Linked DNA regions of Homo sapiens: all the other regions are linked to region 1. The links are contacts of gene promoters, found by promoter capture Hi-C in blood cells and fetal thymus (Javierre and others, 2016). All regions are on one chromosome and are shown on one strand. Each heading gives the region's core, a stretch centred on a gene start or on the middle of the fragment in contact. The rest is flanking DNA. Distances are from core to core; before and after follow the strand shown.

The links. Contacts are between HindIII fragments. The CHiCAGO score rates a contact against its expected background, and 5 or more counts as called.
Region 2: a contact is called between a fragment that was not itself captured here and the fragment with the promoter of RWDD4 in region 1, in 1 of 17 cell types (activated CD4 T cells). The highest score is 5.1, in activated CD4 T cells.
Region 3: a fragment that was not itself captured here is called in contact with the fragment with the promoter of RWDD4 in region 1 in 1 of 17 cell types (monocytes); the score reaches 5.0 in monocytes.

The regions. Positions count from the first base shown.
Region 1 is chr4:183,656,371-183,660,669 of GRCh38, reverse strand. RWDD4 (RWD domain containing 4) reads left to right here and starts at 1,485. Exons shown (of 8, transcript NM_152682.4): 1 at 1,485-1,741. The coding sequence starts at 1,718. TRAPPC11 (trafficking protein particle complex subunit 11) reads right to left here and starts at 1,377. Exons shown (of 30, transcript NM_021942.6): 1 at 1,223-1,377. RefSeq lists silencers at 1,066-1,355, 1,726-1,935, 1,750-1,970 and enhancers at 702-1,489, 1,446-1,575, 1,490-2,278. The HindIII fragment of the contact is 5,102 bases long and covers 1-4,299 here.
Region 2 is chr4:182,907,872-182,912,827 of GRCh38, reverse strand. All of the region lies in intron 3 of DCTD (dCMP deaminase), which reads left to right. Among named protein-coding and RNA genes, the nearest start is that of DCTD, 7.0 kb to the left of the region's middle. The HindIII fragment of the contact is 1,202 bases long and covers 2,108-3,309 here.
Region 3 is chr4:184,644,496-184,649,096 of GRCh38, reverse strand. CASP3 (caspase 3) reads left to right here. Exons shown (of 8, transcript NM_004346.4): 2 at 466-632. Among named protein-coding and RNA genes, the nearest start is that of CASP3, 2.7 kb to the left of the region's middle. RefSeq lists a silencer at 1-142 and an enhancer at 4,101-4,601. The HindIII fragment of the contact is 2,145 bases long and covers 1,580-3,724 here.

The DNA of each region.
Region 1 (4,299 bases), core at 236-2,735:
GAGTCTAGACTAGAGGCCATTTCCTGTAATAACTCCAGAGGCCCAAAAGACATAGCTGTGGTCTTTAAATATGGAGTTGAAATAAGAGGAACTAAAAATGACTGTCATCCAATAGAAATACAAGTCACATAAATAAATTAAAAATTTCTAGCAGTCATATTAAAAAGTAAAACGTGGATGGAATTCATTTTAATATTCAATTTAACGCAGTACAGTATGTCCAAAATATTATCATACTGACAATAATATAAAAGTTATTAATGACATATTTTACCTTTTTTTGTACTGAGTCTTCAAAATCTGGTGTGTATTTCACACTCACAGCACATCTCAATTCAGACTAGCCTATTTCAAATGCCTGATGTAGCTACTGGCTACAGAACTGGACAGCAGAGATCTAAATTATGGGAAATGTGTCCCAAAATTGCTGCACGAAAATTGTATCAGAAAGTCTTGCCACATTCTCCTATGTCACCTGAAATGGTCGTGCTTATTCTGCAGCAAAGGAATTTGAATGAGAACCCCGATAACGCACAGGCGCAGATCGAATGGATTTCAATGACAGGCTGGAAGGAGAAATTTTCAGATATCCAATGGAGCAACCAACGAAACTATACACGAAAGGAGGCGCAGCTATAGAAGGTGAATAATGGATGGGAGATCAAGTAATGCAAGGGAAGTAAACTGGAAACTAGCGTGAAAGATAAGAAAGGTGACCCAATCAAATTGGCAACTAAAAAAACCCCAAAACCTAATGTGGTTACTTTTTTTTTCTTTTAACTAACTGGAAGTTCAGGGTGTTAGGACACAAGGCTGCTAAGAATGGGATTCAGAGATGTTCAACTACAAAACGAACAAAAGAGGAACGACAGTGTGGGGACGAAATGATGTTTCGATGTTAAAGATGAGAAGCAACAATCCAACGTAGGAGAAACACCGTCCCCATGGTCCCAGTATCTGTTCTGGTAGCTCCAGTGAGGAAAGGTAGAGAAATAACCTTGCAGTCCCTAAAGGCAGATATCTTCCTCCTCTTATTCCCCCGTCTTAAACCTGGGAGGCCCTAGAAACGGGTGCGTCTTTCCTCGGGTCTAAAAGAGAAGTGCCAGGATTGCACCCGTCGATGGGATTGCAAAACGCAGGCCCCCAAACCAGCATTGTTAAGAGCTAGCTCTCTTCCTCGGCGGTCCCGCCTGGCCCCGCGGGTCTCCGGGCCCGGACTCACCCAGGCCCCACGCCCCGGGCCCGCTGCAGCTGAGGCCGGTCGCCGCCAGCCGGGAGAAGACGAGGGGAGGCGGGGGGATGTCACAGAACGCCGTGGCCCGTCCCCACCGCCGCAGCCCCACAGCCAGTTCCAACAGGCGAGACTTCCCTGTACCCACCTCCCCCGGCACAGGAAGCACTTTCTGGGCCTGAGTGACCGCGCTCTACACCAATCGCTGTCCCGGAACTTTACGCCGCTCCTCCAAGCGTCAGGGAGACGCTGCACTTCCCAGGCCCCACCAGCCGCGGCTCCGGCTCGTAGCCCACAGCCCACTGCCGGCGGCTGGGCGCTGCCGAGGCTCGGGGCGCGCGCAGTTGGCGTCTGCCAGTGCCAAGACTGTGCCGCCCCCACAGCCGAGGCGCGAAAGGGGGACGCCCGGCCTCTGGGCCGCTGCCTTCGCTTTCTCTTCGTTGTTGCGAACGCCGTCCGCTCAGGAGGCGCCCCGCGACCGGCGCGATGAGTGCCAACGAGGACCAGGAGGTGAGCCCCCCGGCTCAGGGCCCTCTCCCAGCGCGGGCGCGGCGCGCAGCCCCGGGCCCCCGTGAGACCTGGTGCCCGGACAGCCTGCCCGGCACGTGCCCTGTGCCCTCGGAGCCGGCCGGGGTGCCCCGAGTTCACCGGCGTCCCACCCAAGCGCGCGTGAATGGCCAGGAGTCCGCCTCTGCCACTCTTCCCCCCTCATTTTTCATTTTTGCAAATCCGGGAGTCTCCCCTGGTTACTTAATAACAGGGATGAGCGTCCTTGGTGCACGATCCAGTGCTCTTGGCTCTCCTTGAATCCCATGTGTTCAGTGCCTGTTTACTGAGTTAGGCTGATCACCTTTAAATTTTAGTCTGGTCATCTTTAAATCTCTTGGCTAGTAGAGGGCTAATTGAGTTAGTTACATTTCTCATGGAAGAAAATGACACTGGTGGTGCATCTGAGTTTCTGTCCATATTGTTTGGGGAAATCTTTTACCCATCTGTCTGTTTTGAGCATTCATGTACCACCTGAATTTATGGTTTATGCTCAAATATTTCCTTGTGAGATGCCATTTTGACATTGAATCATATAATATTAGAGTTGGGGGGTGGGTGCTACGGGCCATCTGTAGGGGAACCTTCTAACTTTGATAGGTGGGTCGATGATAGCCGCAGGGCTGCACAGTAAGTACGTGGTAGAATCGGGACTAGAAACCAGGTCTTATTGGGTGGTAGATAAGTTCACTGTTAATTTAAAGTATAATGCTTGAAACTTACTACTTTTACATGATAAATGTAATAGAATCTCTGGATTGGAAGTTAACCTTTAAAGGACCCAAAGTCCAACAAGCTAGCTAGTTGATATCTGAATCTCTTCTAAAATATTCTTGCCGGGTGAATTTCTAAGTGAATGCGTTAATAGCTTCTTCTCCCTGCAAAGCAAAGAACATACAGTGTAATGTTTCTCAGAGTTGGACCATAGTCCCCTACCTTAGAACCATTTAGATGGTTGCTAGAAAACAGATGCGTGCACTCCACCCCAGACCTACTGAATCAGAATTTCTGTGGTGGGCCCAGGAATCTCCAGTTTAACAAGAAAATTTCATTCTTCTTTCAGATGACCGATGTTCTGATCTTTGAAGATAGTTTCCTGCCCAGTTTCTCAGACCTTCTCTGAGGAAGTGGTTCCTTTTAGCTTGTCTTCATATATCCATTCTTTGTTAATCTCTTCACTATCCTGGAATCACGTGTTTGTGGACAGATTTTAATTTTTTAAATGTCCTGTTTCAAAATTGTGGCATCTTGCTGTTTTGTCTAGTTAAATTTACTGTCAACTGAAATCTTTTAAGTGCTTTATACAAAGCAATTTGTCTTTCATCTTCAACTTCTACATTTAGGTATCTGAGTATTGATACAAGTTCTACTTACCCTGCTAAATTTCATCATTAGCTTGCTTTTCAAAGACTTTTTGGATTCTTATTCAGCCATCAGCATTATTCACTGTCCCAACAAATTGTCATCCACAAATTTAATAAACTTGCCTCCTATTTTTGTACCTGTCCAAGTCATAAATTAAAATATGGGAAAGGATTAGGGACAGAAGGAGTAGTACTATATCTTGAGTAAGGTTTTTGTTCCAATCTAATCTTAGTTATTCTTGAATCCGGCTTGAATTTCTGTATTTTGTTTTTTTTTGTTTTTTCTGTAAAGGTAGCAAGAGAAACCTGTGGAGCCTGGCTGAAATCTATATAGTCGGTGTTTTATGCCTTTCTTCATTGTGCCAATCAAGTTTCCCTATCTAAGAAGGGTATATCTTGTTTTTCATATACTTACTAGGTCTTAGGGTCTACTCCTTAATGTCCCAGTTCCTCACACACTGTTTCTTCAACAATGTCTTTTTGCTGTTGTTGTTGCTATTTTTGAGACGGAGCCTCGCTCTGTAGCCCAGGCTGGATTGCAGTGGCCCGATCTCGGCTCACTGCAACCTCCGCCTCCTGGGTTCAAGCGATTCTCTTGCCTCAGCCTCCTGAGTAGCTGGGACTACAGGCGCCCATCACCACACCTGGCTAATTTTTGTGTCTTTAGTAGAGATGGGGTTTCACCGTGTTGGCCAGGCTGACCTCGAACTCCTGACCTCAGGTGATCCGCCCGCCTCGGCCTCCCAAAGTGCTGGGATTACAGATGTGAGCCACCGCGCCCAGCCAATAATTTCTATTCTAAAATTTTGACTGTAGATCAAGCCCACTTTCACCATCTTTAGTTTGTAGAATTCATGACATGCATCTTTTTGAAAAACTTAAACGTGTACCCAAGTGCAGTCTTGCTTTACTTCTTTTCTCAGGTATTCATCGGTGATCACAGTGATGAACTTCTCAGTTGTAATACCAAAATGTTCTAAGAACTATGTCCAAGCAAGGATTACTAGTTACATTTTCTCTGACAGTCCTGTCTCATCTTGGGTAGATACTTGTCAGCCTTTTTCTTAAGTTCTTTTTCTTGCCCTTAGGTGTTTTTTAGAGCTTTGTATCACTGTGGGAAGGATTACATATAAAAGAAATGTATGTAAATAATGGGAA
Region 2 (4,956 bases), core at 1,459-3,958, 750 kb after region 1:
TGTGCCTTCTTCAGTCACCCAGAGCCCCCAGCAGATCTTTAAGCAGTGACCTGGAAGCCAAGGGCCATGCAGTACATTTGCAGCACCTGCCCCACACCCCAGACTTCCCAGCTCTCCTGACTTCCCGTGTAGCTGATTTTGTTGGTTATGAGACACTGCCTTTTGTCCAAATTGAGGAGAGTACCTTTCAGAGCCCCTTTCTAGAAGGAATTTTTTTAAAAACCTGCATAGGTATTTGTCCAACTTCACCGATTGTTTTTTATTGAATAGCTCCTGAGCTCCTGGGCACTGGTTGTCTGTCTGCATTATTTTTTATTATCCATATGATACCTCTAGGTTTTCAAAGCTCTTTGCTCTTACTTATCAATTATTCATTTATATGTAGCTGTGTTAGAATGTCGACAGTTTTCTTTCACGAGAGTAAGCTTGTAATTTGATGTACCATAAAAGTTGTAGAAGGTATTAAATGGTTTCTAAAAGGCATTTAGTATTACTGCCGCCATAATACAGTAAAGATGGGCTTAAAGTCTAAATGACGATGACTGTGTATAAACTGTACACTTGTTGTCTTCTCAAGGTTTTTCAGGCCACAGAGAAGTAAATGTTTGGATTGCCTGGGATGTCACAGAAATGTTTGCTGATAATTGACTCAAATGCAAAGTCTTTTTTTTTTTTTTTGCTTTCGTTTTAAGATTTTCAAAATTAATTTAAAAAATAAGGGGATACTGCCTGGAGTTGGATAGCTCAACCCATTCTTTCCTCATCTACATTAATGGTGACTGAGCTGCTGTAGCAGGAAGGGTAAATTCATAGGTTAATCCCTGTAAAGGAGCTTTAGAGATTATCTCGAGTTCTGGACAATGATTTTTAACTCTTTTGAATGTACAGGACCCTCTTTTAAATGCTGAAAAACTTCCAGGACCCCTGCATAATGCTAAATTCTTAGTATCTTTTGAGTAAGAAACTCCACAATGACAAAAACTACTTCGTATCAGTAACATTTTTTGTTAATCTGAACTTTATTAATTGGATAGCATTTATGTATGTTTGGGAAAAGTTTATGTATGTCCTGGACATGGGATTTATCCAGTTGTGGATATGCTTGGACCCCTTGCAATACCTTAGTAGTGTCTCAGGGTTCTATGCCCACAGGATCTAAGCCTCCTCCTTTCTTGTAAGTAACTTCTATAATGTCACACATGCAGGGTGACATCTCCTAATTCCAAGGTCAGTGCTCTTCCTGCTACCTCCCTGTGTCTCTCCTGTGGGGCACATGAATTCAGCTGTACTGAAATGCCAATCATTGTCTCATTTTTTTTTGCAGTTGATCAGACTGAGGCTCCGATAAAATAATTACTCCTCAGAGATCAGGAGCTCGGGGAGGGGTGGCCTGTGTCCGGCATCATGCAGAAAGCCACATGCGTGGCTCACTGTAACATTTCTTCAAAGGGGAGTGCAGTGGACTGAATGTGTCTCCCCCCAAATTCACATGTTGAAACCCTAATTCCAATGTGCTGATATTTGGAGGTGGGGCCTGGGGGGACGTAATTAGGCCATGAGGGTGGAGCTCTCCTGAATGGGATTAGTGCCCTTCTAAAAGGGACCCCAGGGAGCTCAGTTACTCTTTTTCCATGTGCAAGGATAGGCGGAGAAGATGGCTATCTGCAACCCTGAAAGGAGACCTTGCCAGAATCTAACCATGCTGGTGTCCTGACTTCCAGCCTCCAGAACCATGAGAAATAAATGTCCATTGTTTCTCAGCCACCCAGTCTATGGGACTTTGTTATAGCAGCCCCAAGGGACTGTGACAGGGAGCTTGAGAACTGTGTAAATTTGAGTTTACCAAATAACATACAGCTTAATACTGCTTTATTAATTCCGTAAGTCGGAAGTCATTAGTCCTGATTGATGCCTTGTGGGGAGGAGGGAAACACACACTACTTGTAACATAATAGGAAGATGGAGCTTTTCCTGGGCTGTGTCTCTAGAGAGTTATTTTTAAAGGGTGTTTTTGTTCTTCCAGTCTTGGGATCAAAACTTCATAAAACTATTTTATTATAATGTAGTATTAATGTGGAAAATGAAAATTCCCTCTGCTAAAGAAGCTTTTTATTCCATCCTTTTCCTGAAAAATCCAAAAGATAATATGATGTCAGTAACATTAAGTGGCAGGAAGAAGGCAATGTTATTATACTAAGAATCTTTTCAGATGAATGACAATTAAAAAAGAGGAAGCAGCAGATTTATCTAATTTACAAGATTAAAAAACTTGGGAAGATTTTTATTTTCATGAGGGGGTGGGTTGCTAAACCTGTGATGAAGTATTCAGTTGACATTTTTCATTCCTTTTTCTTTGTGGAATTCATTATAGTGAAGCACATTTAATCAAAATACCAATGTTATCAAATGAGGTAAAATACTCTTGGTGATTCAGATATCACTCTTTCCTTGGGTTTTCGTAACCGATTTTGATGATATAGTTTACAAATTAGAGAGTTGGAGAATTAACTTGTTCCCGTTGTTAAACTTAAGGGAATTTTTAGTAATGCTTGCCACATGTATCCAGCTGCCCAGCACTTGTGGCCTTGCTGATTTCTGCTGGCAAAGGGCTCTGGGTTTTGGTGAGTGCCTCTGTGCTTGGCCTCCTATCCCACCCAATGGACCAGGGAGCCAGGGTTGCTTGGCCTGCTGCATCTCACTGCACCAGGGAGGGAACCGTAGCATCTCAGTGTCCCCAAGAGTCGGGGGAGGCCTCACTCTGAGTGCGTTGGGTAGAAGTGGGGCTCTTACCCGAGTCAGTTCCTATGTCTACAGGGATACTCTAAAAAGGATGTAATGCTGGGAAGGAAAATGCTGAAAAACCTGGAATTAATTAAGGCGAAAGAGTTCAGCAGAGCATCTTAAACACCTTTGCCAGTGTGGGGCAGTGCCTCTTTAAATTCTCTATTTAAATTTCATCTTTATTTTTCAGACTTAGCATATTGTTAAGCATGCATAGATGTCACTTTTGTGATTACTTAGCCATTTACTTTACCCCCTTGAACACTGACATTTTCCTGACTGCCATGCACGTGATATATTTCTTTGGCATCTGAAAGGTTAGTGTTGAGAAACTAATTTATCAAGAAGTTAGGAGGCTGATCCTTCTTAAGATATGACTTCCTCACAACTTGTAAGAGCTTCTTAGTAATTAAGATCAAATTTGTTCTTTCCGTCCTGAAATTGAATGTCCTCTGGTTTCGTTAGTCAGTCCATGAATTTGATAACTTGCTGTTTCTTTTCCTGCAGAATTTAATTTCACTTAAAGCTTCCTGCCGCTCCTCCCCTGCCTGGCCTTCTACTAGTTGTGGCCCGACAGCAGGTCTAATTAGGGACTTTTGTACAAAACTACTGTTATAATCAATGGAAAACCTTTGAACAACTGCATAGAAAAGAAATTAAGTAGATTATTTTTACGAATCAAGGGGCAAACTCAGCTGTGATCGTGTGGGGTTTCAGATAAACAGAGGGACACACCAGTGTATATATGAGTCTTCTCCCACCCACTAAAATCAACCAGCTCCATGTAAGCATGTTTTACTTTAAGATATAATTGTTTATAAACAGTTTTCAGAAAGGAATAAATAATGATATTTTAATATAATTTATTTTGATATTTATGTATTTTTATAGTTACAGAGTTAATTATTTTTAAAGTGCTAGAGTTTACTATTTCATTATGAATATCTATGAAAGACATATAGTAACAAAATAACTCCTTGTTTTGAAGAGCACACATGTTAGGAAAAGCTGAAATGTTTGGGGATTGGACCTACCCATGAAAATACACATATCTGTCTCCTTTCTATAAAAAGTGACTTTTGAGTCAGTTCACCTCGTAGAAGTTTGAAATAAAACTTAATCTAAAGTAGTGGTTCCAGGGTTCCCAGAAGTGGGCTGAAGTTTATCTTTGTACTGTAATCTCTCAAGATAAAAGGTTTGTTGAAAAATTAGTAGCCTTGATAAAATGTCAGGGGCACATGCAAACTAATTTAGAAAACAGCTATGTTAAGTATTTGAGCACATTAATGATCTGAATGCAAATGGATATTCCTTCTTTATTTCTTCTTCTTCTTCTTCTTCTTTTTTTTTTTTTTTTTTTTTTTGAGACAGAGTCTTGCTCTGTCACCCAGGCTGGAGTGCAGTGGCACAATCTTGGCTCACTGCAGCCTCCACCTCCAGGTTTCAAGCGATTCTCCTGCTTCAGCCTCGGAGTAGCTGTGTGATTACAGGCACGTGCCACCACGCCTGGTTAATTTTTGTATTTTTAGTAGAGATGGGGTTTCACCATGTTGGCCAGGCTGGTCTCAAACTCCTGACCTCAGGTGATCCACCCGCCTCAGCCTCCCAAAGTCCTGGGATTACAGGCTTGAGTCACTGTGCCCGGCCACTTCTTTATTTCTTTAACTTTGCTAAGTCTTTGCTTAGAAACACAGGGATTGCTGTACAGTGTGGTTACCTGAGAATGATTACTCTCATAGTCTTGATTCTGGTGATCTGTTCTATGTCAGTTGTGCTGATTTTGACTGATCTTCTCTGAAATTGGCTGAAATGACTAAAGCTTTATTGTATTTTGAGTTTTTTTTAATCCGGAATCTCCCTTCAGGAGTTTTGTTAATACCAGCTATATTAAAGTAGAATATGAATATATTGTTTGCTCCCAGAAATACACAATAAAACCTAGTTCTTAGAGATTTTTGCAAATGTTTGTATTGCTTTTTACTTTTACTTCCTGAAGACTTTTTTTTTTTTAATCTGGATAGGGATATGCATGTCTGTAATACACACATTAGCTAAGTAAAGCCCCATAGTGCTTAAAACAACAATTGCCATATTCACACGAAAGAATCCTGGAGCCGCCGTAAGGAGCCAAGGGTTCCAGGTTTGGTATGTTCATGCCCAGTGACTGTGGGGCTG
Region 3 (4,601 bases), core at 1,403-3,902, 990 kb before region 1:
GGAGACCTGGCCCGGGGGCGGGAGGCTGGGCTGGGACCGGGGAGGCCGGGCAGCGCGAGGCCGGGCCGGGGAGGCCAGGCAGCGGGAGGCCTGGCCAGGGGAACCGAGCCCGGGGCCGGGAGGTCGGGCACGGGGCACCGAGCTCCGAGGGCGGGAGACCTGGCGGCCGGCCGAGTGCCGGAAGGCCGGGTCAGGCGGCGGAAGGCAGCGGCAAGCTGGGAAACGGACGGCGCTACCGCCGGCGGAGGAGTGGCCCCGGGAAGCGGTGCTGCGAGGGCTGGGGCGGCCGGGTGCTGACTGTGAGATACTCGCCCTGGGGGCTGATCCTTCCAATTTTGGACGAGGCTTCCGTCTCTGCTGCCTTCCATGCCTGGGGCCTGGATTATCCCGGGTTGACAATGTGGTTTAGCTCTTCCAGAGAGATAGTTGCAGGGTTTAAACTCCAATTCCTTTTCGGCCCTGCAGAGTTTCGTGAGTGCTCGCAGCTCATACCTGTGGCTGTGTATCCGTGGCCACAGCTGGTTGGCGTCGCCTTGAAATCCCAGGCCGTGAGGAGTTAGCGAGCCCTGCTCACACTCGGCGCTCTGGTTTTCGGTGGGTGTGCCCTGCACCTGCCTCTTCCCCCATTCTCAGTAAGTGGCACCCAAGCAGGAAACCGGAAAACATCGTTCGCAGCCCCCTCTCGCCCACCCACTTCTTTTCCTGCTTAGTCGCCAAGCCTTGTCGACCTTGTAAATGTCTGCCAGATCTGTCCGCGTCTCTCTATCTCTGATTTCAGCCGTCTGACCACAGCAGCCTCTTCCCTGGTCTCTCCACTTCCAGACCCGCCTGCTCCTTTGCAGTCCACTTTTTACAGCACAGGCAGAGGGATCTTTATGAAATGAAAGTCTAGAAAGCTCGTCCTTTGCCCTTAGGTTAAACCCAGCACTTAATATGGCTAACAAACCCCTGCGTGTGTTGGGTCCTGAGTGCCCCCACCCCTCCTTATCTTTAGCACCGGTTCGATTTCTGCACGGCAATGCTGACCTTCATACCTAGTGTCTGCCTGCAACACCTCTGCACTCCCTTTCTCCCGCCATCACATTTGATTAGAAGAGCTGCTACTTAAATTTCTGTTTTCATTAAACAGTTTAAGGTTAAATCTTCCTATGCTGTGTTCTTTCTGCAGCCAGCATTCCCTAAGAGAGATGTGTCATATCCTTTGCAGTTGCTTGTTTACTATCTTCCCTGCTAGATTTGCAAGCAAACTCCAGGAGGGACGGACTTGGTTTATCTTGGTATCCTTAGTGTCTTGCCCCAAATGCGGGGCCTGGCATAACACAGTGAATGCCCATCCATTGTATTTTTACTTTTATGCCCTATCTAGAAAAAGTAGACCTGGTTTAGGATTATTCAGCAAATAATAATTAGAAAAGAAATGGTAGAGGTGACATACGGAGTCACTGAAACGATGTAAACCTGCAAGATAGCTGAAAGAGGGCCAGGCAAGGTGGTTAGACCAGACTGTATCAAAATGGGCTCAGCCACTGTGAATGTGCGTGCTGTGGTTACATAATCTCTAAAAATGAAATATAAAGCTTAAATCATCTCTATCACAGCCCGATGCTTGGACTTTGGTTTTGCTTTGCCTTTTTGCAAAAGAAGGTTTTTGAAAGTGAAAATTATTTTAGTGAATGGATGAACAGTTTATTGGAGTATGGCAATAAAACCTGTTCAAAGTAAGAGACATTAGACATTGTACCTAGTTAAATCAGATTTGCTTTTGCTATCCTGAATAAAGGCCTTGCCTCTTGCCATTTGAAGAGACTGGCATCTGATATAGGCAATTATAATGCTTCTTTACTGTTTTGTTTTCAAACCTCGTTTAACACAATCTCCTACTGCTTCATCCCCCTACAAAGCAGTCTTTATTTTGATGAATGATATATTACATTGCTTCTGGTGCCTACTATTAGATCTTTAAGCTCTGCCCCAAAGATAAGAAGCACTGGTGTTTGGGCCTAAACAAAGATGGGAGAATTCTTAGATTTATATAATATTCTTTCTCTGCATGTTTTGTTCTTACCTTCACATGTTGCCTGTAGAGCTTCTTTGCATTACAATAATGAAATCAAGCTACCTGATATGTATTGGACACGGTCTGGCATCTGCCTTGTTGAGCCACTTTTGAATACCAGTGAGCATCGGTATAAGCCCTGAATAGAGATAGGGTTTGTCTCTTCCACTGCTTGATACACTCAGGGTCTAGTATAGTACTCTGCACACAGTTGGTGTTCAGTAAATTGTTATGGTGCAAATATCAAATGAATAAATGCTACTGAATCTGAGTTTTGGCAGTTTCAGTCTTCCTGACAGCAGGATTTCTTCAAGCGGTTTTAAACTTGAATCTGATTCTGCAAAGTAGTCATCCTTGGTGGGAGTGCTGAGGCTTTAAAGTCATCTGTAATTTTTATAAAAAGGCATCCGAGATCCTCCATTTTACACTTATATCATACAAATCATTTAGATCTGTGAAGGCTTTCCCATTTTCTCCTTTTGTCCTTCCAAAAACACCATCTTAGGACTTCACCTGGCACAGGGAAGACAGATCGTTTGCACATACTAAGTGCCCTTCTTTCTAACTTGTGTCATAAACTCAGAGGCTTTGAATAGTGGAGAGTGCTCTGTACTGTCTTCCTGGTCACGTGGCCCTTGCCAGAGGAAAGGAAAGGATGGTTTGTTTGTATAGTACAATGGAACTTATTTCAATGTATTCTGTATTTGATTTTACATTCCTGTTCTCATATTTTTACCTTAATTACATAACAAATATTAAAAGATTGACTTCACCAGGCCCAGTTACAATCGCCAGTTTGATAATTCTTATACGTACTCAAATGAATTCAGAGACCAGATGGGAAAAGATTTTGATAAAACCTCTGGTACATCACAACTGAAGTCTTTTCTTGTCCAAACTATTGTGAAACAGATGTTCTTTCTGTTTCATTTGCTAAATCTGGAAACGTGACTGCTTTTGAGACTTTGTCCTCTCTGACAGGTAATAAATATAATCCTGATATTTTTCAAGTTGTTTGACAGAAGTGTAATCTCCCCAGAAGTCCTGCTGGACAGGCTTCACTTTTCCTTTGGAGGAACACAGAGATACAGGGAATATGTTTTAATGACATATACCTAACGCTGAACATGAAACCAGTTATTTTACTTTTATTATTATTATTTTTAGAAACAGCCTTGCTGTGTCACCCAAGCTCAAGTGCAGTGGTGCGATCATAGCTCACTGCAGCCTCCAATTCCTATGCTCAAGTAATCCTCTTGCCTCAGCCTCCTGAGTAGCTGGGACTACAGGTGTGTGCCACCATGCCAGGCTACTTGTTTTTACTTTGTTATAGAGATGGGGTCTCTCTGTGTTGCCCAGACTGGTCTTGAACACATGATCTCAACCATTCCTCCCACCTTGGCCTCCCAAAGTGCTGGGATTACAGGCGCGAGCCACTGTGTCTGGCCTATTTCACTTTAGAAGTAAATTGAATGCCACATGCGAAGTTTGTTAAATTTTTTTAAAAAAGGAAAGAAAACACAAAAGTAAACTACCTAGTCGCATCAGAAATGCCATAGTCATTTTTGCCATTTTTTCATTCATTAGAATTCAGTGCATTATGTTATTTTGTTATCTCTGCAGTAACTTTCTATCATGTTATTTATTTTCTTTGTCTTATTTAAAGCTTCTGAGATTATGGATTTTTGTTTCCTTCCCTGAAGTTAAGTGTTATCATTCCTATATAGTACTAAGCTGTCTACAGAATAGTGGGAGTCTGCCCTCTTGAGTTGGGAAGATCCTAGTTTGAATCTTGGCTGTGCGACTTTAAAGTTCATTAACTTCTCTTAGCCTCAGTCACCTGAACTCTGCAGTGGGGATCCTTATGCCTCAGAGTGTCATTGGGAGGACTCACGAAAATACGCTTGTACTTTGAGTTCAGTACCTAGCCTGTATGAGCCAGCATTAAGAGGGACAGTCATCACGCAGCGCTTTGCACACAGCTCTCACGCCACATCCTTTGGCTACTGTTTTGGTAAATCTTTACTAGTAAATGTTTCTTAAAAGCATTTACATTCATGGACATGATTCAGAAACTAACAGTTGTTTTTTAGGTCTCACTTTGAGATTTAAAAACCCTTAGGGCAGAGACCAGATTTTATTTCTTACCTCAGAGTTTCCCTGTAGGACAGGAACCAGCAACAGCCTAATGAGCTGATTAAGAATTTTAGAGATTTAAAATTTAAATTAGGATTGCCAGTTTTAGAGACTGGCACATAAATGTTTTCATTTAAGGCAGTGACTGTTTCCTTTAGGATATGATTTTTTATCTTTCTAAGATGAGATCACCATCCTCAGAATAATTTGTACCCCGCTGGGCACTAGCTAATGGAGGTGATGTCATGCTAAGCAGCACTTCAGTGAGTTTTGCGGGAACCAAAGCTCTGCTCCCAGGAGTGTGGATTTGGTGCTTTCATGTGGAAAAAGCGGATGATGACAAGTAGAGAGCAAATGTGCGCATGTCTGATGCTGTAAGGATTTCCTTTACCATCATATAAATTTTTAA